Linked DNA regions of Homo sapiens: regions 1, 2, 3, 5 and 6 are each linked to region 4. Evidence: promoter capture Hi-C in 16 types of primary human blood cells and fetal thymus (Javierre and others, 2016). All regions are on one chromosome and are shown on one strand. The core of a region is centred on a gene start or on the middle of the fragment in contact, and the rest is flanking DNA. Distances in the headings are between cores, read along the strand shown. Region 1 holds the start of DUSP2 (dual specificity phosphatase 2). Region 2 has its middle 15 kb from the start of ADRA2B. Region 3 overlaps STARD7 (StAR related lipid transfer domain containing 7). Region 4 holds the start of CNNM4 (cyclin and CBS domain divalent metal cation transport mediator 4). Region 5 overlaps STARD7-AS1 (STARD7 antisense RNA 1). Region 6 has its middle 28 kb from the start of STARD7-AS1.

Region 1 (3,354 bases), core at 484-2,983, 620 kb before region 4:
GAGGAGGTAGCAGCCCTGCCAGAGGTGAGGGGACTGTGCTGGCCCAGAGGGGAGCCCACCAGTCCACAGTCAGCTCCTGCCAGCACAGTGGGGCAGGCAGGCAGAGGGGCACCACCTCAGTGACACAGCACCTGGGTCTCAAACTGCAGCAGCTGCCCCATGAAACTGAAGTTGGGGGAGATGACCCCCCGGCGCTGCTTAACGAAGTCAAAGGCCTCGTCCAGCCGCACACGGCGACTCTGCATGAGGTATGCCAGACAGATGGTGGCAGAGCGCGAGATACCCGCCTGGCAGTGCACCAGCACCCGGCCTCCGCTGTTCTTCACCCAGTCTGCAAGGGAGATGGGGGAGTGGTGTCAGACGGAATGTGCACAGCCCAGGAGACAGGTGCCCCCAGTCCTCTCCTCTGGAGCCCCTCGGGATTTCTGGGCAGAGGTGCCCCCTTACCAATGAAGCCTATGGCCTCCTGGAACCAGGCACTGATCTCCACCATCTGGTTGTCCTCCACAGGGATACTCTTGTAGCGGAAAAGGCCCTCAAAGTGGTTGGGGCAGCTGGCGGACACGTTGAGGACGGCTGTGATGCCACAGGCCTGCAGCCCCTGCAGGTCTGACGAGTGACTGCAGCTGCCCAGGAACAGGTAGGGCAAGATCTCCACAGGGCCACCCTGGAGGGAACAGAGGGGCGGTGAGGCCTTTCCAGCCCAGCCCCGGAGAGCTGGAGCAGCAGCGGGTGGAGACCCCATGGGCTGGCCGAGACAAGAGGACTCCTCAGCCAGTCCTCCTGACCTGAGACAGGTCTCAGGAATGTGCGGAGGACACACCGGGACATACATTTCCCTTCATGCTCCCAACATACACATGCAAACATACACAGACCCATACAGGCACGCGCGAGCAGCCATGCCCCACCCCCTCCCCCAACACACACACGTATAAAAGTGTGTGTATATGGGCAAACTGCTCGCATCCCCAAATGGCAGGCTCTTTCCCTAGAGGCGCCCAGTCCGCGGCGGGGAGAGAGGGAGGTTCGGGGGAGGGGGGTCAATACTCACCTGGTCGTAGACAGGAGCCCTGGAGTCGGAGCGGCTGGTTTTGTCCCCTGTTGGCGGCAGCGCAGGGGCGGGGGCCTCAGAGCACAGATCGGGACAGCAGCCCTGGAAGCCGTCGAAGCCTCCTGCAAGGAGGGGAAGAGCACGATCAGCAGGGAAAGCCGGGCTGGAGTCGGGTGGGGCGGGCCAAGGGCGGCCGGCTTGCTCACCTCGCAGGAAGTACACGGCAGTGGGCCCCGCGCGGGTCTCGTGCAGCAGCGCGGCCAGCAGCACATGAGCCGGGCTGTCGGGCCGGAGCTCCGCCACCGAGGCACTGCCCTCGTCCAGCACCACGGCCCGCGCCAGCTCCCCGCGGACCAGGCGCGTCCGCAGCGCGCGGTCGGGCAGCAGGCAGGCGAGAACGGCGGCAGGAGGGCCGCGCGCGCGGCGCCGCAGCAGCGCGTTCCAAGGCACTGGCCGCGCGGCGCGCACGTGGCGCCGGCAGAAGGCCAGGAAGGGGCGGCAGTCCAGCAGCAGCGTGCGTTCCGCCTCCCGCGGATCCCGCAGCAGCGTGCCCAGCGCCGCGCACTCCAGCTCGCGCGCCGCCTCCAGCCCCATGGCCACCGGTGCCTCTTCCTCTTCCTTTCGGTCTTTCCCGCGTCCCGGGCTCTCGTGGCGGTGGCGCTGCCCGAGCGGTCGACTCCGGGCGCCCTCCGCGGCGGCCCGGGTTAAGTACCCGTGGGCCGGCCTCCGGGGCACCATACAAGGGCAGAGCAGGAAGGCGCTGGCGCCCGCGCCCGCCCCCGCCCCTCACGTGGGGCGCAGTCTGGGCTGACCTGGAGACTTCGGGGCGGGGGGGAGGTTGAGGGGGAAGGCAGGGCGCGGGGACCAACACACCGGGAGGAGGCGGGGACCAGCGACTAAGGGAAGGGAAGGTGTTACCCGGAGTCGGAGGGACTAGCACCCCTCCGTTTTTGCGCCCACCCTTTGACCTGTCCCAAGCCACTCAGTCCTGGGGAACCCAGCTTCTCAGATGCAGGTCCCCCTTTAGGGCCAACGATGACCCTTGGAGTACCCCACCCCCTAACCCCACGCTTCCTCTGCCTTTTCCCTTTCCCTCCCAGAATTTTCCTCTTAGAAATTTGTCACCACAAACATTGACAAATGCCTGCTGCCACGGGTGATTTCTACACTGGATGATGGGGGGGGTCCCTGCTGAGATGTCCTATTTCTCATCTATTTGGAGACCTTGAGCCAGAGGGACTTTCTCTCTCCTCCCCCTCCCCACCCCCCATTGCCTGGATAAGACCAGTACTCAGGGTCTTGCAGTAGGTTGGTGGCCAAGCTAGGCCAGAACACAGTCCCCGGGGCCCAGGCCCCTGGGCTTGGGCCGAAGGGAAATGAGGGGGGGTCCCAGGGCCTTTCATGGGGAAAGCAGGGGTCTGTGACTGGTTTCCAGTTATGTGTAGGGCAAAGCTTCTTCCTCCTGGGTGCAGGGAAAGCCCCCAGGCCCCAGAGAGAAGTACTTCCCCCTGCCACAAGCCCGCCCTGGAGGGAAGTCCGCTGACGCTCCCGGCCCTCCCCAGGCCTGCGGGGATTTCAAGACCTTGGCAAGGGGAAGAGGGAGAAGCAGAACAGAACTGGCCTCCCCCATCCTAGGCCTCCCTGTCCAGCCCCGCCGGGCAGCAAAGTCCAGGGCTAGCACTGCACCCGGAGGACTGGGGGCCTGGGTATCCCCTCCATTCCGCCCTCCCCCAGCCCTGCTGCCGGATGTGGTGAGGCCCAGGTGTGCGTGGGGTGTCTGAGCCACAAGAATTGTTGGCAGTGAACTCCCAAACTCAAGCAGAGAAGTTGAGGTGGGTGGAGACAGCGTCACTGCGCTGGAGCTGCCCTCGCCCTGCCCCCAGCTGCGTGGGATTTCAGAACCCACCCTCCAAGCCCCCAGTCTCCTGAGGCCCTCCTCCGTGCCCTCTGAAAGACCCTTCCGGCTCCCCCACAGACCCCTGTGTCCAGACCGTCTTGAAGAGTGACAGCTGGGACCTGTGGAGAGCCCGCAGCCCTTCTGGACTTGTCTGCCCTGAGTTCCTCACAGCAGTGTGCTGTATGCCTGGTTGTGTGCAGGGCAGCATCGTACCTGTGCAGTTCCACTATGTGTGAGAAGGAGCTGGAGCTTGTGTGTGCTGGGGTCAGAGCCGATGCAGAGGAGAAAAGCCCCAAGGACTCCAAAGGTCCCTGGGGCCACGTCACCCTCTCAGTGTCTCCATCTGTAAGGGGAGCACATCATGGTGCAGCGGCTCTTCCACACTGGCTCCAACGCTCTAAGG
Region 2 (3,348 bases), core at 96-2,595, 660 kb before region 4:
ACAAAGAGGAGGGGGAGGGTGAGAAGGAGAAAGAGGAAGGGGACCGAGAGGAAGAAGTCGTCCATCCAGCATCCTGGTTAAGAGCATTGGCTATGGAGTGGAATTTCATGTCCCACTTCCTCTACTGACCAGCTGTGTGGCCTTGAGCCAGTTGCTTGACCCTTCTGGTCTCTAATTTCCTGAGCTGTAAAATGGAAAGATGACCCCTCCTGGAACCATTGTGTGGCCTCTGTGTGGGTGCCCTTAGGATGGTGCTGAGCAGAAGTCGGCACTGGACAAGTGTGTGAAGCCCCAGTCAGGACAGCAGGAGAGCTGGAACCCCAGAGACTGTTGAGCTGAAGCTGGGGCGGGGTTGGGGTTGGGGTAAGGGCAGCTCCCTTGGCCACACTTCTGCAAGAGCAGTTAGGCCTTCCTGGCCACGCACACCACAGAGGCTGGAAGCTCTTGGGCGTGCAGCAACATGCCCACCCTGGGCTCACCTCACCCCAGGCTGGAGAGCCCGAGGGGCTTCCTGAGGCTCCTGCAGAGCAGACCCATCCAAGGCAGCAGGCCCCGCCTGTCCCCACCAGCCACCTTCCCACAACCCCACTGCATGCAGGGATGCGGGCAGAAGGAGGGAGGGAGAGCGAGAAGGGACCGAGGGAAACCAAGAGAGGAGGCTCAGGGTCCAGGAAGAAGGAAGGAGAGAGGAGAGAGTGAGGGAAAGGGAGCGGAGAGAGACCCAGGAACACAAAGGGAGACAGAGAAGAAATTTAGAAACAGAGGAGTGATCTCTCTAAAAAACTAAAATGGGAGGGAGGAAGACCAGCTGTGGAACCCCAAGGAGGGCTGTGAGGGACAGTGATGGAGCTTGGGGAGCTGGAGACAGCCTGACCCCCCTGCAAACAGGGCTTTTATCTAAGGATGGGTAAGATGTTGTTATGACAACAGATGTAGCATTTAGGGTAATTCCTGGTGAATAACCAAGAGAAGAGGTGGCAGCTCTGGTGGGTGCTGCAGTCCAAAAACAGGGTCTCAGAGGCAGCCCCAGGCCCCATTCGCCCCTGCCTCATTCCAGACCCTTCCCTCCACCTGAGCCTAGCCAGGACCTTCCTAGTCCCTGAGGCCAGGCCACCCCAGGACAGACCTTCTGAGCCACAGCCAAGCACCCAGGTCCCACCTCCTCACCCATCCTGCCTAGGGCTGACAGCAAACCCAGGCCCTGTGCATGGACACTGCCTCCGTGACAAGCATCTCAACCTAACTCTCCTCAGGACCCTGAGAGTGAGATGCAGCAGGAACCTCATTTTACAGATGATAATATAAGAGTCAGAGAAGTTGAGTAACTTCTCTGAGGTCACACAGCAACTAAACTGCTCTACACGGTCCCACCCCAGATCATTCCCAGGGCCAAGAACTGCTCCTGGGCAGATCTAGAGACAGGCTATTCTTACAAACCTCATCCCCTAGCACTTTCTGGAAAAAGTTAGAGACAGCACTTGTGGATGAGAAGAAAAGGAGAGACAGAAAGCGTTTTCTGCACCTGGCTCTCTACAACACTACACCACTGTGGCCCTTGAGATGATTATTTCTATTGCAACCCACTGGACACTCCCAGTATTTGGGAAATACTACAGGGTAACTGTGGGGCCTGGGCTCTATTTGGTGGAATCTCTCAAGTCTGGGGGACCCTGAAGGCCAAGGCTCCCATCCAGCCCCCTCCAGCCTAGGGGAGCTCCATGAAGCCTGCGGCATCCACAGCTGCCCTTTCTCCTCTGTCCTCTGGGCCATTGGCCTCACACCCACAGAACCTCCTGGACATCCACCCCAGGACTGCCTGGTCCACGGGAGGGACGCATCCCAGCCCTAGGGAGCTCGGAGGGTAGGGAGAGGGAGCCAAGAGCTGGGGCAGCCAAGAGCTGGTGGGGGGGGCGCAGCCTCTGCAGAGGGCCTGCTTGTCGGTGGATCCCAGGCTCTGGGAGGATGAAGCCCTGGCCTTTCACATGCCTCGGGGCTCCTGCCCCAAGCCCAGATCTCTGCCTGGCTGGCATCACTGGGATGACAGAGGGGTCTCTTAACAGCCTCCAGGGTCATCGCAAGGGAGCTTCCTCAAGGACAGGACCCAGACCCCAGCACCTCCCTGAAATAACACCCTGGACCTGGAAAGGCAGGCCAGGGGTGAGGGGCGACCCAGCTGGGAGAGAAGAGAGCCCAGAGGCTGGGGGCTTCCAGGGGCTCCAAGCTGACTGCGCCTGAGGAGTGGGGCTGTTGAGCAGGAAGGGATGTGTGTGTGTGTGTGTGTGTGTGTGTGTGTGTGTGTGTGTGTGTGTGAGAGAGAGAGAGAGAGAGAGAGAGATTACTAATGTGATGGAACTGTAGTCGGTGAGGCAGAGCTGAGGAATTTTTTTTTTTTTTGAGTCAGAGTCTTCGCTCTGTCACCCAGGCTGGAGTGCAGTGGCACAATCTTGGCTCACTGCAACCTCTGCCTCCCAGGTTCAAGCGATTCTCCTGGCTCAGCCTCCTGAGTAGCTGGGACTACAGGCACATGCCACCATGGCCCGCTAATTTTTGTGAGTTTTTTTGTTTTTTGAGATGGAGTTTCACTCTTGTTGCCCAGGCTGGAGTGCAATGGCGCAATCTCGGCTCACTGCAACCTCTGCCTCCGGGGTTCAAGCGATTCTCATACCTCAGCCTCCCTAGTAGCTGGGATTATAGGTGCCCGCCACCATGTCCAGCTAATTTTTTTGTATTTTTAGTAGAGATGGGGACTCACTGTGTTGGCCAGGCTGGTCTCGAACTCCTGACTTCAGGTGATCCGCCTGTCTCCGCCTCCCTAAGTGCTGGGATTACAGGTGTGAGCCACCGCGCCCAGCCAAGCTGATGACTTTGAGCCCTTCTAGAGAATTCTTCAACAGAAGATTTGATTTAAACAAAGAGAAGAGGAGGAATTGAGGAGAGGGAGTGCAGGGAGCTAAGGTCCTGCAGGACAGCCCTTCGTGCAAGCTGCCCCACTGCGTTGGACTCCCTTGCATGCCCCTGGATGCAGGTCTGTCCCTGCAGCTGTGGATGCCCTAGGTTGACAGGGGCTGAACATCCCCAAAGAGCTCGCAGCCAGCTGTGATCAGAGTGGCGCAGGTAAACTGCAACAGGCACTCAGCGGAGCGAGAGCTGCCCTCCGTGGCCCTGCACTGAGGCTCCAGGACAGCGGGTGAACCGCAATCTCAGGCAGTCAGGGTTCACCCCAACAGAGGGAGGTGGAGGGAAAGGAGGTGCACTGGTCACAGGTGGCCCCAGCCCAGGCCTGGGGAACTGGTGTGCCCAGGGGAGGCAAGGGGCCTGGGCAGAGTGAGAGCAGCCTGCATCTTCTGC
Region 3 (3,152 bases), core at 647-3,146, 560 kb before region 4:
TGTGCAACTATGGAACCCAAAAGATAGCCACACTGGGCTCACCTCGGTACTGGTAAAGGTGGGTGCCTGTAATTGGGCGCCGCCACAGCTTAAAGTGTTTCTTATCCATCACCATTTCCCAACGTTGCTCTTTGCCCTCTGAATCTTCATTCCCTTCTGTTTGGGCTTTTGGTTCTGGAGGGTGGTGCTGGACTCCAGAGCTCTGAAACATATTTGACATTTCTTCCAACCGCTTCATCTCATTAATAGATCTGTAAAGGGGAAAAAGAGCCATGGTGAGGTGGTTAGTCAGCCCTGTGAAATGAAGTGTCCACACAAAGGTCTGTGCAAGAAGGTTATACAGTAAACCACAGTATGTAGTATATAAACAGGACACAGTATAGTCAATAAAAACTGAGTTCCTGAGTTTGAATCTTAGTCCAACACTCACTAACTAGATTATTATTTAACCAGTTCCTATTTCTAAATCTATAAAATGGAAATAATAATAGTACCTATCTCGAGGTTGGCTATAAAGATTACAAAGTGTCAAGTGCTGCAGGGCGTGGTGGCTCACGACTGTAATCTCAACACTGGGAGGCAGAAGAGGGTGGATCACGAGGTCAGGAGCTCAAAACCAGCCTGATCAACATGGTGAAACCCTGTCTCTACTACAAACACAAAAATTAACCGGGCATGGTGGCGCGCAACTGTAATCCCAGCTACTCAGGAGGCTGAGGCAGGAGAATGACTTGAACCTGGGAGGCAGAGGTTGCAGTAAGCCGAGATCACGCCACTGCACTCTAGCCTGGGCGACAGAGTGAGACTCTTGTCTCAAAAAAAAAAAAAAAACAAAAAACAAAAAACAACGAAAAAAAAGTAAGTGTCAAGTGCTTAATATCTATGGCCAGGCACAGAGGCTCACTCCTGTAGTCCCAGCACTTTGGGAGGCCAAGGCAGGAGGACTCCTTGAGGCCAGGTTCAAGACTAACCTGGGAAACACAGTGAGACCCTACCTCTAAGAAAAAATTTAAAAAATTAGCCAGGCATAGTGGCACATGCCTGTACTCCAAGCTATAGGCTGAGATGGGAACATCACTTGAGCCCAGGAGTTGGAGGCTGTAGTGAGCTACAATTCTGCCACTGTACTCCAGTCTGGGCAATACAGTAAGACTCTGTCTCTTTTTTTTGTTTGTTTTTTTGAAACAGAGTCTCACTCTGTCACCCAGGCTAGAATAGAGTGCCATGATCTGGGCTCACTGCAACTTCCGCCTCCTGGGTTCAAGTATTTCTCCTGCCTCAGCCTCCCCAGTAGCTGGGACTACAGGCACGCGCTATCATGCCCGGCTGATTTTTTGTATTTTTAGCAGAGACAGGGTTTCACCGTGTTACCCAGGACGGTCTCAATCTCCTGACCTCATGATCTGCCCGCCTCGGCCTCCCAAAGTTCTGGGATTACAGGCGTAAACCACCGTGCCCAGCTACACTGTCTCTTAAAAAATAAAATAGGCTAGGCGCAGTGGCTCACGCCTGTAATCCCAATACTTTGGGAGGCTGAGGCAGGCGATCACCTGAGGTCAGGAGTTTGAGACCAGCCTAACCAACGTGGAGAAACCCTGTCTCTACTAAAAATACAAAATTAGCTGGGCACGGTGGCACATACCTGTAATCCCAGCTACTCGGGAGACTGAGGCAAGAGAATCGCTTGAACACGGGAGGCGGAGGTTGCAGGGAGCCAAGATCGTGCCATTGCACTCTAGCCTGGGCAACAAGAGCGAAACTCCGTCTCAAAATAAAATAAAATAAAATAAAATAAAATAAAATAAAATAAAATAAAATAAAATAAAGCCAAGCACAACGGCTCACGCCTGTAATCCCAGACTTTGGGAGGCCGAGGTGGGCGGATCACCTGAGGTCAGGAGTTCGAGACCGGCCTGGGAAACATGGTGAAACTCCATCTCTACTAAAAATACAAAAATTAGCTGGGCATGGTGGTGGACGCCTGTAATCCCAGCTACTCGGGAGGCTGAGGCAGAAGAATCACTTGAACCCAGGAGGCTGAGGGTGCAGTGAGCCAAGATCGCACCATTGCACTCCAGCCTGGGCAACAGAGTGAGACTCCATCTCTAAAATAAATAAAAAATAAAATAAAATAAAGTGTTTGTTATCTGGCACGTAAGTAGCCCTCAAATGTTAACTATGAAGGTTTATGGTTTTAAAATGTCAATTGATATCTTTTGTCCGTTTTTTATTGGGTTGTCTTATTATAAGTATGTATGTATTTTTCCCCTTTGTTTTTAAATTGATAAATTCACATACCATAAGATTCATTCTTTTACAGTGTACAATTCTGTACTTGTTAGTATATTCACAAGGTTGTGCAACCATCACCCCTAATTCCAGAACATTTTTATCACCCCCAAAAGAAACCTCTATCTATCATTAGTCACTTCCCATTCCTGCCTCCTCCCAGTCCTAGGCAGCCACTAATCTACTTTCTGTCTCTATGGAGTTGCCAATTCTGGACATTTCAAGTAAATGGAATCATATGATATGTAGCTTTTGTGTTGAGCTTCTTTCACTTAGCATACTTTCAAGTTCAACCATGCTGTACTTTATTCCTTTTTATAGCTGAATAATATTCCATTGTATGGATAGATCGCATTTTGTTTATCCATTCATCAAATAAAATTTGTTTCCACTATTTTATTATAGTGCTATTATAATAGCACTATATTATATTACTGCTATTATAATACTGCTGGCCGGACGTAGTGACTCATGCCTATAATCCTAGCACTTCGGGAGGCCAAGGTGGGTGGATCACTCTGAGGTTGAGTTCGAGACCCAGCCTGGCCAACATGGCAAAACCCCATTTCTACTAAAAATACAAAAATTAGCCAGGTGTGATGGCAGGAGCCTGGAATCCCAACTACTTGGGAGGCTGAGACAGGAGAATTGCTTGAACCCAGGAGGTGGAGGTTGCAGTGAGCCAAGATTGCACCACTTCACTCCAGCCTGGGCGAAAAGACAAAACTGTCTCAAAAAAAAAAAAAAGAATACTGCTATGGACATTTGTGTACAAATCTTCATATAGACATGTTTTCAATTCTCTTGGGTAGATTCCTAGGAGCAGATTTGATGGATCATGGTAACTATGCTTAACTTTTTAA
Region 4 (3,070 bases), core at 458-2,957:
GGAGACAGGGAAGGAACAGGCAGTCAAGGTTCTGCTTTTGTTCTGTCTCAGCCAGTGCCCATTCCAAGGCTCCTATTCCTCGAAAAAACTGACCTGCTGGGCACTCACTGCAAAGTATCCGCTATGAGTGGGGCCCCTACTAGCAACATACTTCTCCAGGCTGGCCTAGTTTACAGAACCCTCAATCCCAGCTAACAGGGCTTTCTTGAGTCAGGGCCTCTCTGCTACCACACCTCCTCCCACAACATTGTGTGATCCTTTCTGTTTAGGCTCCTTCCGTTTGGTACTGATTGCTGCTTTTATTAGCAAACATTACACCAAAATGAAAATAAATACAAGTGTCAGTGCGGGAAGGGAGTAAAGTGGGTTCTGTGTCTTCAGTACTGGCAAAAGATTTGCTGTGAGACCTGGTGGTCAACCCAGTACCTGATCTTCTCTGTGCACCTGTGCAATTATTGTAAGGATGTTTATCTGTCTGTCTTCTTCCCCCTCACAGGGCGGGCAGCTGTGGTCTTCCTTATACACCCTACTGACACAGGGCTAGGGCCATTCAGGAAGCAGTCATTTCAGGGATAGGCCCACTGCCGCGCCTGCCTGCTCATGTCCACAAGCAGCTGCCCAGCTGATCAATCACCACAATTTGGGGTTAGGAGTTTGGTCCTGGAAGGCAGGTAGCAACAACTACTACCTAGCCAAAGAATATTCTAAAGAGCTGTCCTGTCATGTTCAATGTCTAGGTCCACAATCCCGCAAGCTTAGCGAAGTAATGCTCTGTCATTCTTACCCCCATTTACAGATGGAGAAATGGGCTGGGAGATGACAGTATGGAGGCACCAGGATTTTTGTCTCGGCTCAATTTCTGCATCTCTAAATGGAAATAATTCTACTAACTCTGAGGGTTGTTGGGGGGATTTAATGAATATATGTGTTTACTTGTTTATCTCCTGTTTTCTGTTCTAGACTGTAAACCCCAATGGGCAGCGACTTTGGCTTGTTCACTGCTCTATTGTCAGAGCCTAGAACAAGTGCCTGGTACAAAGTAGGTGTTCAATAAATATCTATGCCTAAATGGAAGAGACAGGAGAGAAGTCTAGGCCAGAGCCTGCCCCTTCTATAACCTTAGTTCCCCAGATTTGCCTTCCACATCAGGCAGCCACTGGTTGATGGAAGCATCGTCGGGCTGGGGCTGGGGCTGGGGTAACCTACTTCTGGCCTTAGGACAAGGTCGGCAAAAATCTCAGCAGTGAGGAGGCCAGAAAAGTCTCCAAGGGGCAGGCTGCAATGCCAGCCTAAGCCCTCAGGTTTCCTTTTTCTTTTTCTACATCAGGAAAAGCACTTTTCTCGCCCTGCCTGCAGAGCGGGCCACCCCTAGCTGCAGGTGAGGGACGGGAGAGGAGCCTCCCACGTGCGGCCGTGCGAGGCCGAGGAACAGGAACGGCGTAGCTAGGAGACCAGGTCCCGGAGAAGGAGAGCTGGCCCCACTGGCAGAGAAAGGCGGGGAAGGGCGCGGAGGCGGAGCACTGGGCGGGTACCCGCTGGCGGCTCTCGCGCGGCGGCGCTGCTCCACCTTAAGCGACTGTACCCCCTTAAGGGCGGGCGCTCAAGCAGCGAGCCCCGGGGGCGGGGCCTCCAATGCAAATGAGGGGCGTGGGCAGGCGGGGCGGGGCGGGCGGGGCGCTGACCTGACGTCAGGCTCGCGGCCCGGGCAGTTGGCTCGGCGGCAGCGGAGCGGCCGGAGCTGCGGTGCGGACCGGGGCCGCGCGGCGTGGCGCGGGGAGCGGCGGCGGCGGCAGAGCCAGAGCAACATGGCGCCGGTGGGCGGGGGCGGGCGCCCGGTCGGCGGACCGGCCCGCGGGCGCCTCCTCCTGGCGGCGCCGGTGCTGCTGGTGCTGCTGTGGGCGCTGGGGGCCCGGGGCCAGGGCAGCCCCCAGCAGGGCACGATCGTGGGCATGAGGCTGGCGAGCTGCAACAAGTCGTGTGGGACGAACCCGGATGGCATCATCTTCGTGTCCGAGGGCAGCACCGTGAACCTGAGGCTGTACGGCTACAGCCTGGGCAACATCTCCAGCAACCTGATCTCCTTCACCGAGGTGGACGATGCCGAGACCCTCCACAAGTCCACCAGCTGCCTCGAGCTCACCAAGGACCTGGTCGTCCAGCAGCTGGTCAACGTGAGCCGCGGGAACACGTCCGGCGTGCTGGTGGTGCTCACCAAGTTCCTCCGGAGGAGCGAGAGCATGAAGCTGTATGCACTGTGCACCCGGGCCCAGCCCGACGGGCCCTGGCTGAAGTGGACGGACAAGGACTCACTGCTCTTCATGGTGGAGGAGCCTGGGAGGTTCCTGCCTCTCTGGCTGCACATTCTCCTAATTACGGTGCTGCTGGTGCTGTCGGGCATATTTTCTGGCCTCAACCTCGGGCTTATGGCCCTGGACCCCATGGAGCTGCGCATCGTGCAGAACTGTGGCACCGAGAAGGAGAGGCGCTATGCCCGCAAGATTGAGCCCATCCGGCGCAAGGGCAACTACCTTCTCTGCTCGTTGCTCCTAGGGAACGTGCTGGTCAACACCTCCCTCACAATCCTTCTAGACAACCTCATCGGGTCCGGCCTCATGGCGGTGGCCTCCTCCACCATTGGCATTGTCATCTTTGGGGAGATCCTACCTCAGGCCCTGTGCTCCCGACATGGGCTGGCTGTGGGTGCCAACACCATCCTTCTCACCAAATTCTTTATGCTACTCACCTTCCCCCTCAGTTTTCCCATTAGCAAGCTCCTGGACTTTTTTCTGGGCCAGGAGATTCGCACTGTTTACAACCGGGAGAAGCTGATGGAGATGTTGAAGGTGACGGAGCCCTATAATGACCTCGTGAAAGAGGAGCTCAATATGATCCAGGGTGCCCTGGAACTACGGACCAAAACTGTAGAGGATATCATGACCCAGCTCCAGGACTGCTTCATGATCCGCAGCGATGCCATCCTGGACTTCAACACCATGTCGGAGATAATGGAAAGCGGCTATACTCGCATCCCGGTGTTCGAAGACGAGCAGTCCAATATTGTAGATATTCT
Region 5 (3,402 bases), core at 530-3,029, 530 kb before region 4:
TCCTGCTTTTTATATGAGAAAGGCTAACCTGTATTTAAAACAGATGCTGAGACAACATACAATTATAAAAATTTCGCCAGGTGCAATGGCTCATGCCTGTAATCCCCACCCTTTGGGAGGCCAAAGCTGGAGGATCACTTAAGCCCAGAAGTGTGAAACCAGTCTGGGCAACATAGCAAGACATTGTCTCTACAAAAAAAAAAATTTTTTAAGTTAGCCAGGCATGGAGGCACACGCCTGTAGTCCCAGCTACGTGGGAGGCTGAGGTGGGAGAATGGCTTGAGCCCAGGAGATCGAGGGTGCAGAGAGCCATGCTTGCACCACTGCAGTCCAGCCTGGTGAGACAAAGTGAGACCCTATCTCAGAAAAAGAAAAGAAAATATCCTGAGTTGCAAATGCCCTGAATACACCTAACCTACAGGACATCATAGCTTAGCCTAGCCTACCTCAAACATGCCCAGAACACTTACATTGGCCTACAGTTGGGCAAAGTGATCCGTCCATACAGCCCACTGTAGAATATTGGTCATCCAGCCTAGTGATCCTGTGGCTGGCAGAGCTGCACTCACTGCTGCTGCCCAGCATCACGAGAGAGCATCGCACCACATATCACTCACCTAGGGAAAGATCAAAATCCAGCATTCGAAATACAGCTTCTACTGAATGCACATCGCTTTCGCATCATTGCTGAAGTAAAAAAAATTAAGTTGAACCTTCATAAGTCAGGAACTGTCATGACAATGTCATCTTTTCTTCTGGGCCCCACTCAAAACTGATAGCCTTTTAAGTTATTCAGAAAATGGGTCAGAGAAGAACATTGAAATGAGGTATACATTGCCTTCAAAATCCAAAACCACTGGGCATTGTGCCTCTTAGTGGTAGTAGGGCCCAGCTTAACATGCCCCAGACCGTTAGGCCCCCCAGAAGGTTCACTGAATGTTTGTGGGATTTATTTCCCACCCTCTGGCATACATATATCTCGTCAAGGTGGCTAGAATAGTTACTACTTCTAATCAGCATATTATCAACACATTAGATGAATGTGATGTCCTGTGGAGTAGAGAAGAGGACAAGGTCTCCACAAACTAGATGATGACAGATGACTGCGAATTGATACAGTCCTGAGTTTGGATAACGAATAGGTATTGCTAGCCCTGTCAGCTCAAAGCAAACTGCTTTTGATGGTCTTTACTAAAAATTGCTGAGGAAAAAAGCATTCATCAGATCAATAGCTGCATACTTTGCTCCAAGGGATGCATTGATTTGCTTCATGAATGAAGGCACACCTAGAATAGCAGCTGCAATTGGAGTCACAACCTAATTGAGTTTATAATAATCCACGCCATTCTCTTGGATCCATCTTGGATCTGCACAGGCTAGAGAGCTAAGCTGAATGGAAATCATCAGCTCTGTGTCTTTCAGATCATTGATTAGTGGTGGAACTAATTTCTGCAATCTCTCCAGGAATGCAGTGCTGCTTTTGGCTCACTGCTTTTATAGGTAGAGGCTAACATTTATATGGTTTGTCTTTTTTTTTTTTTTTTTGAATAGAGTTTCGCTCTTTTTGCCCAGGCTAGAGTGCAATGGCACTATCTCAGCTCACTGCAACCTCTGCCTCCCGGGTTCAAGCAATTCTCCTGCCTCAGCCTCCCAAGTAGCTAGGATTTCAGGCATGTACCACCATGCCCAGCTAATTTTGTATTTTTAGTAGAGATGGGGTTTCTCCATGTTGGTCAGGCTGGTCTCGAACTCCGACCTCAGGTGATCCACCTGCCTCAGCCTTCCAAAGTGCTGGGATTACAGGCGTGAGCCACCTCGCCCGGCCTCCATTTTTTTTCAATTCAGCATAATTTGTATTGTCTCTGAAACTCAGCTTCCTCATCTGTGAAATACAGATAATGATGCCAGCCTTACTTGTGTTCAGAGGTTGTTGTAAGACTCAAATAAGATTGTGTAAGCTAAAATACATTACAAACTGTAGAACCCTCTACAGGGTATAAGGAATAAGCGCTAGAATTATTATTACCTCCTTCCATCCCCTCTTATATAGAAAATTTAGATTATAGTCCCCTTGTTACTATTTCAATCTATGTTTTTTGTTGTTGTTTTTGTTGCAAGTACTTGGAATCCACTCAAAGTAGTTTAAGCATAAATATGGAATCGAATTTGAAAGATCCAGGAGTGTCTCAAGAAGCTCAGAATTCACAGGCAGGAAAGGCACTTGCGCATCATAAGGTGGTAGAAAAAGGAACTGAAAAGGCATTGGGAGCTGTGGCCATGAGAGTGCACTGCTCACATCTCTGAATGCAGGGGAGCGTAACATGGCCCCCTGCTGCTGGGCTATGAAATTCTGCCACTGCATTTGCACTGAGACCACCCTTCTTGTGAGCTGCTCCCACCCGGTGACTGAGTGCAGGCCTGCCATACTAAGGCAGGCCCATTTCTGGGATATGGGGACTCCTCTGACAGGTGGCTTTGGCACAAGCACACCTCATCAGCTCTTGCAGAGCTTTCTTAGAACTACACTACGTTCTAAGCTGGGCATGGTTAGGCATGTGTAGTCCCAGCTACTCAAGAGGCTGAGGGAGGAGAATTGCTTGAGCTCAGGAGTTTGAGGCCAGCCTGGACAACAAAGGGAGACTGTCTCTGAAAAAGAAAGAACTACACTGCGTTCTAACACCTCCTCAACCCAGCCCTCCTCCATTCCTGTCTCCTGGCAGGGGCTACACCTGCATTGCAGCTCTCCCAGGCTCTTCCGGCTTCCTGCTATTCGCTTCACAAGTGTTTTCCCAGCACATCTCTTGCACATTTAGTCCTATCTGGGCATCTTCTCAGAGGACTCAAACCTTAGGACAGGAACCTAAGTAATTCCTCTTTTGCAACTCCAAGTCTATGTGGACTCTTATTTTCTTTCTACTTTTCTACTTCCTTTCTGCTTTACTCTTTCACCCAACCCCTACCTAATCTTCTCAGCTTTTCCATTTATATAAAGAAAAATGTCTGACCCAGTTTCTAAATTTACAAATCCTTCCAGTTTGAGCACTAATTGACACTGATGTCTTTGAATCCTCACTTCAAGCTCCCAAAAGAAAGAATCAAGTGCCTTCACTTGGATTAGGAGCTCATCCCCGGTCCGGTTGTGGTAATTATGGCCAAGGAGACAGGTCTCATGATACAGACAGTATTACTGAGATTCACATCTCAGCTGATGACTTGCTTTGTTTAATGAGAAAATGGAAGCAACTCAGGCCAGGTGCAGTGGCTCAAGCCTGTAATCCCAGCACTTTGGGAGGCCAAGGCGGGAGGATCACTTGAGCCCAGGAATTTGAGACCAGCCTAGGCAACATGACAAAACCCTGTCTCTACCAAAAATAATTTAAAAATTAGCCAGGCAGGGTGAAG
Region 6 (3,057 bases), core at 322-2,821, 580 kb before region 4:
AAAAAAGGGGTGGGGGGCAATAAGGTCATTTATAAAATTTATAAATTATCTGTTTAAAAATGTTTTAAAGTATATGTGTGGGTCACAACCAACCCTGAGGTTATTAAAGCAGCTCTGACAGTGGAGAGCCTGAGGCTCTATTTGAATGATGCTCCATCAAGTACCCGCTGAGGCTTATAGGGATAGTACATCTGCATTAAGATCACTTTCATCTACACGTTACTGCTTGATTTTTAAAAGGCTTTCAAGTTTATTCATTAGAAATCATAGTTCTCAGATTTTATTGCTATTTTCACTTTGAGAAAAATATTTAGATTTCTGTCCTATCATGGTGGGTTCAGAGACTGGTGACTTTGAAATTTAATACCTTTAGAAAACGTTATTTCAAGATGTCCCCACCCCCCATCCCTTCATTACACAGTATGGTACTGGGAGTGGTGTACATTCTGAAGTGTTCTAGAGAAAAATGATTCCAGATACTTACAGAAACAGAACTCAAACAATTGGTGAAAGAGATAAAGTTCAAGCAACTGGCTATTATACTGGATGGAACTAGAGGGTAAGAAGTGTAAACCACATAAAATTTAACACAGAAAGCAAGCCTAAACCAGGCATAGTGGCTCACACCTATAATTCCAGTGCTTCGGGAGGCCAAATTGGGAAGATTGCTTGAGGCCAGTTTTGAGACCAGCCTGGGCAACATGGTGAAAGCCCACCTATAAAATAAATACAAAAATTATCCAGGTGTGGTGGCTCGTGCTGTAGTCCCAGCAGAGGTGGGAGGATTGCCTGAGCCCAGGGAGTTGAAGACTGCAGTAAGCCTTGACTGCGCCACTGCAATCCAGCCTGGGTGACAGAGTGGGACTCTGAAAAAACAAAAGTCAAGCAAGCAGGCAAGCCTAGGCCAGGCACAGTGGCTTACACCTGTAATTCCAATACTTTGGGAGATCTAGGTGGGAGGATCACTTGAAGTCAGGAGTTTGAGACCAGCCTGGGCAACACAGTGAGACCCCATCTCTACAGAAAAATTAGATGGGAATGGTGGTGCATGCCTGTGGTTGGTCTGGGCTACTCAGGAGGCTGATGTGGGAGTTCACTTAAACCCAGGAGTTCAAAGCTGCAGTGAGATCTGATGGCACCACAGCACTCCAGCCTGGGCACCAGCGAGACTATCTCAAAAAATAAAATTTTTTAAAAAGCAAGCTCATGGGGCATATGTTCTCAAGATCTCCTGAGGGCTGTGTCACTAGCCAAAAAATAAAAATAAATAAATAAATAATAAAAAATAAAGCAAGCTATGATCCAAGCTTCCAAACAAGTCAACTACCCCCAGGGGAAAGAATCTGGCAGTATTTATAAACATTAAGTTTTAGGGGGAAAATAAAAAAATTTAAAAACATAAGTTTTAAGCCATGCTGCCAGCTGTCTTTGGAGATGTTAGAGCTAGGTCTGCATCCTGGCTGTCACTTCCTGTGTGACCCTGAGCAAGAAAATTACTTAACCTCTAATGCCATCTCTTCATTTTATAGATGAGGCACTAGCTACATACTCACAGGGCTATAGAATTAGATGAAGGCATGAAGCATGGTGCCTGGCACAGTAGATGCTCAATAATGGTGGCTATTATTGGCTAATCCCAAACTCAGCATAAGCCAACAGTATGACAAGACTTACATCAGTAGTATGCGGATCTAGGAAGACTGTTGCCTCTCTAGCCTATTTGTCTCCCTTTGATCACATTCAACATTTAACACTTGTTCATGTACACTTGCACAACACTTGCTCACCCCTAGAGGTTTCAATGGTCTGGGGTGGGGCCAGGCTTTGGGAGTTTGCAAAGCTTCCCAAGTGCAGCCAAGCTTGAAGACCACTGCTCTACATTCTATTATATGAAGCACAGGTGAAGTTACAAAAGGTAGACTACTGTTCTAGATGAAAAGTGGCCAAAGAAGGCCGGGCGAAGTGGCTCACGCCTGTAATCCCAGCAGTTTTGGGGGCTGAGACGGGTGGATCACTTGAGGTCAGGCGTTTGAGACCAGCCTGGCTAACATGGTGAAACCTCATCTCTACTAAAAATATAAAAATTAGTTGGGTGTGGTGGTGCACGCTTGTAATCCCAGCTACTCGGGAGGCTGAGGCAGAAGAATTGCTTGAACCCGGGAGGTGGAGGTTGCAGTGAGCTGAGATGGTGTCAATGCACTCCAGCCTGGGTGACAGAGCAACACTCTGTCTCACAAAAAAAAAAAAAAGTGGCCAAAGAGACAAATGCAACACACGATAATTAATCTTGGGTTGGGGAGGCTATAAAAGTCATTTTGGAAATTTTAATATGAACTGCATTATTAGATATTGTGGCATTGTTATTTATCTTGTGTGCTCATGGTATTGTGGCTACACAGAACACCTGTATTATAAAAAGCATGCTCAACTGTTTAGGGGTGAAATACCATGATGTTTGCATCCTACTTTCAAATGATCATGACACTGTGTATATAGAAAGAGAAAGCACACACAGCAGATGTTAAACACCAGCAAAGGGAAGGGTATACAACGTAGTTTCTTCGTCTTTTTCTATATATATATACATTTTTTAAAATGAAAACCTCATACTAACACTCAACCCACGGTCACCACGCTGTGATAGCTAAGCCCACGCTAGCTATTAAAGCATCACTACTTTCCTATTATTTGGTTCTCCTGTTCATAGAACACTCAGTGCTGCTGTCTCACAACATGTCTACACAAACCACACAACAAAAACTGCAAGGCCTATAGAGAAATGGGTTTAGGTGTGCAATACTCAAATCTTTGTGACACATAAAAAGGTACCAGTTTCAAATATGTCAATGGTTAAGAAATAAAGCAGTCTACCTTGACCTGCAATTTGCAGGCAGAAACACACTGGACAGCCCACCCAGCTCCCACGCGTACCACCCTGCATGAAGAGGAAGAGAACAAAAGATAAGACAAAGTGAGAGAAAACATAGAGAAAAAGAAGAAAGATTGGGCTGGGCGCAGTGGCTCACGCCTGTAATCCCAGCACTTTGGGAGGCCAAG

The links. Contacts are between HindIII fragments. The CHiCAGO score rates a contact against its expected background, and 5 or more counts as called.
Region 1: a contact is called between the fragment with the promoter of DUSP2 here and the fragment with the promoter of CNNM4 in region 4, in 7 of 17 cell types (total CD8 T cells, naive CD4 T cells, activated CD4 T cells and 4 more). The highest score is 7.3, in total CD8 T cells.
Region 2: a contact is called between a fragment that was not itself captured here and the fragment with the promoter of CNNM4 in region 4, in 1 of 17 cell types (activated CD4 T cells). The highest score is 5.5, in activated CD4 T cells.
Region 3: a fragment that was not itself captured here is called in contact with the fragment with the promoter of CNNM4 in region 4 in 2 of 17 cell types (naive CD8 T cells and non-activated CD4 T cells); the score reaches 5.6 in naive CD8 T cells.
Region 5: a contact is called between a fragment that was not itself captured here and the fragment with the promoter of CNNM4 in region 4, in 7 of 17 cell types (naive CD8 T cells, activated CD4 T cells, non-activated CD4 T cells and 4 more). The highest score is 6.6, in naive CD8 T cells.
Region 6: a contact is called between a fragment that was not itself captured here and the fragment with the promoter of CNNM4 in region 4, in 5 of 17 cell types (naive CD4 T cells, total CD8 T cells, non-activated CD4 T cells and 2 more). The highest score is 7.9, in naive CD4 T cells.

Annotation. Positions count from the first base shown.
Region 1 is chr2:96,143,707-96,147,060 of GRCh38, forward strand. DUSP2 (dual specificity phosphatase 2) reads right to left here and starts at 1,734. Exons shown (of 4, transcript NM_004418.4): 1 at 1,261-1,734; 2 at 1,055-1,176; 3 at 448-667; 4 at 1-331. The coding sequence starts at 1,648. The coding sequence ends at 117. RefSeq lists enhancers at 664-713, 1,116-1,617, 2,414-3,293 and a silencer at 1,344-2,103. The HindIII fragment of the contact is 7,151 bases long and covers 1-2,504 here.
Region 2 is chr2:96,099,925-96,103,272 of GRCh38, forward strand. No RefSeq gene overlaps it. Among named protein-coding and RNA genes, the nearest start is that of ADRA2B, 15 kb to the right of the region's middle. The HindIII fragment of the contact is 7,542 bases long and covers 1-3,348 here.
Region 3 is chr2:96,195,299-96,198,450 of GRCh38, forward strand. STARD7 (StAR related lipid transfer domain containing 7) reads right to left here. Exons shown (of 8, transcript NM_020151.4): 2 at 43-251. Among named protein-coding and RNA genes, the nearest start is that of STARD7-AS1, 12 kb to the right of the region's middle. The HindIII fragment of the contact is 7,570 bases long and covers 1-3,152 here.
Region 4 is chr2:96,759,195-96,762,264 of GRCh38, forward strand. It overlaps CNNM4 (cyclin and CBS domain divalent metal cation transport mediator 4), which reads left to right and starts at 1,708. Exons shown (of 7, transcript NM_020184.4): 1 at 1,708-3,070. The coding sequence starts at 1,806. RefSeq lists enhancers at 1,146-1,195, 1,755-2,344, 2,216-2,465, 2,345-2,933 and silencers at 1,526-1,945, 2,069-2,252. The HindIII fragment of the contact is 3,226 bases long and covers 753-3,070 here.
Region 5 is chr2:96,231,718-96,235,119 of GRCh38, forward strand. The region is part of intron 1 of STARD7-AS1 (STARD7 antisense RNA 1); the gene reads left to right. Among named protein-coding and RNA genes, the nearest start is that of SNORA112, 19 kb to the left of the region's middle. RefSeq lists enhancers at 2,305-2,374, 2,385-2,534. The HindIII fragment of the contact is 9,545 bases long and covers 1-3,402 here.
Region 6 is chr2:96,179,238-96,182,294 of GRCh38, forward strand. No RefSeq gene overlaps it. Among named protein-coding and RNA genes, the nearest start is that of STARD7-AS1, 28 kb to the right of the region's middle. The HindIII fragment of the contact is 533 bases long and covers 1,306-1,838 here.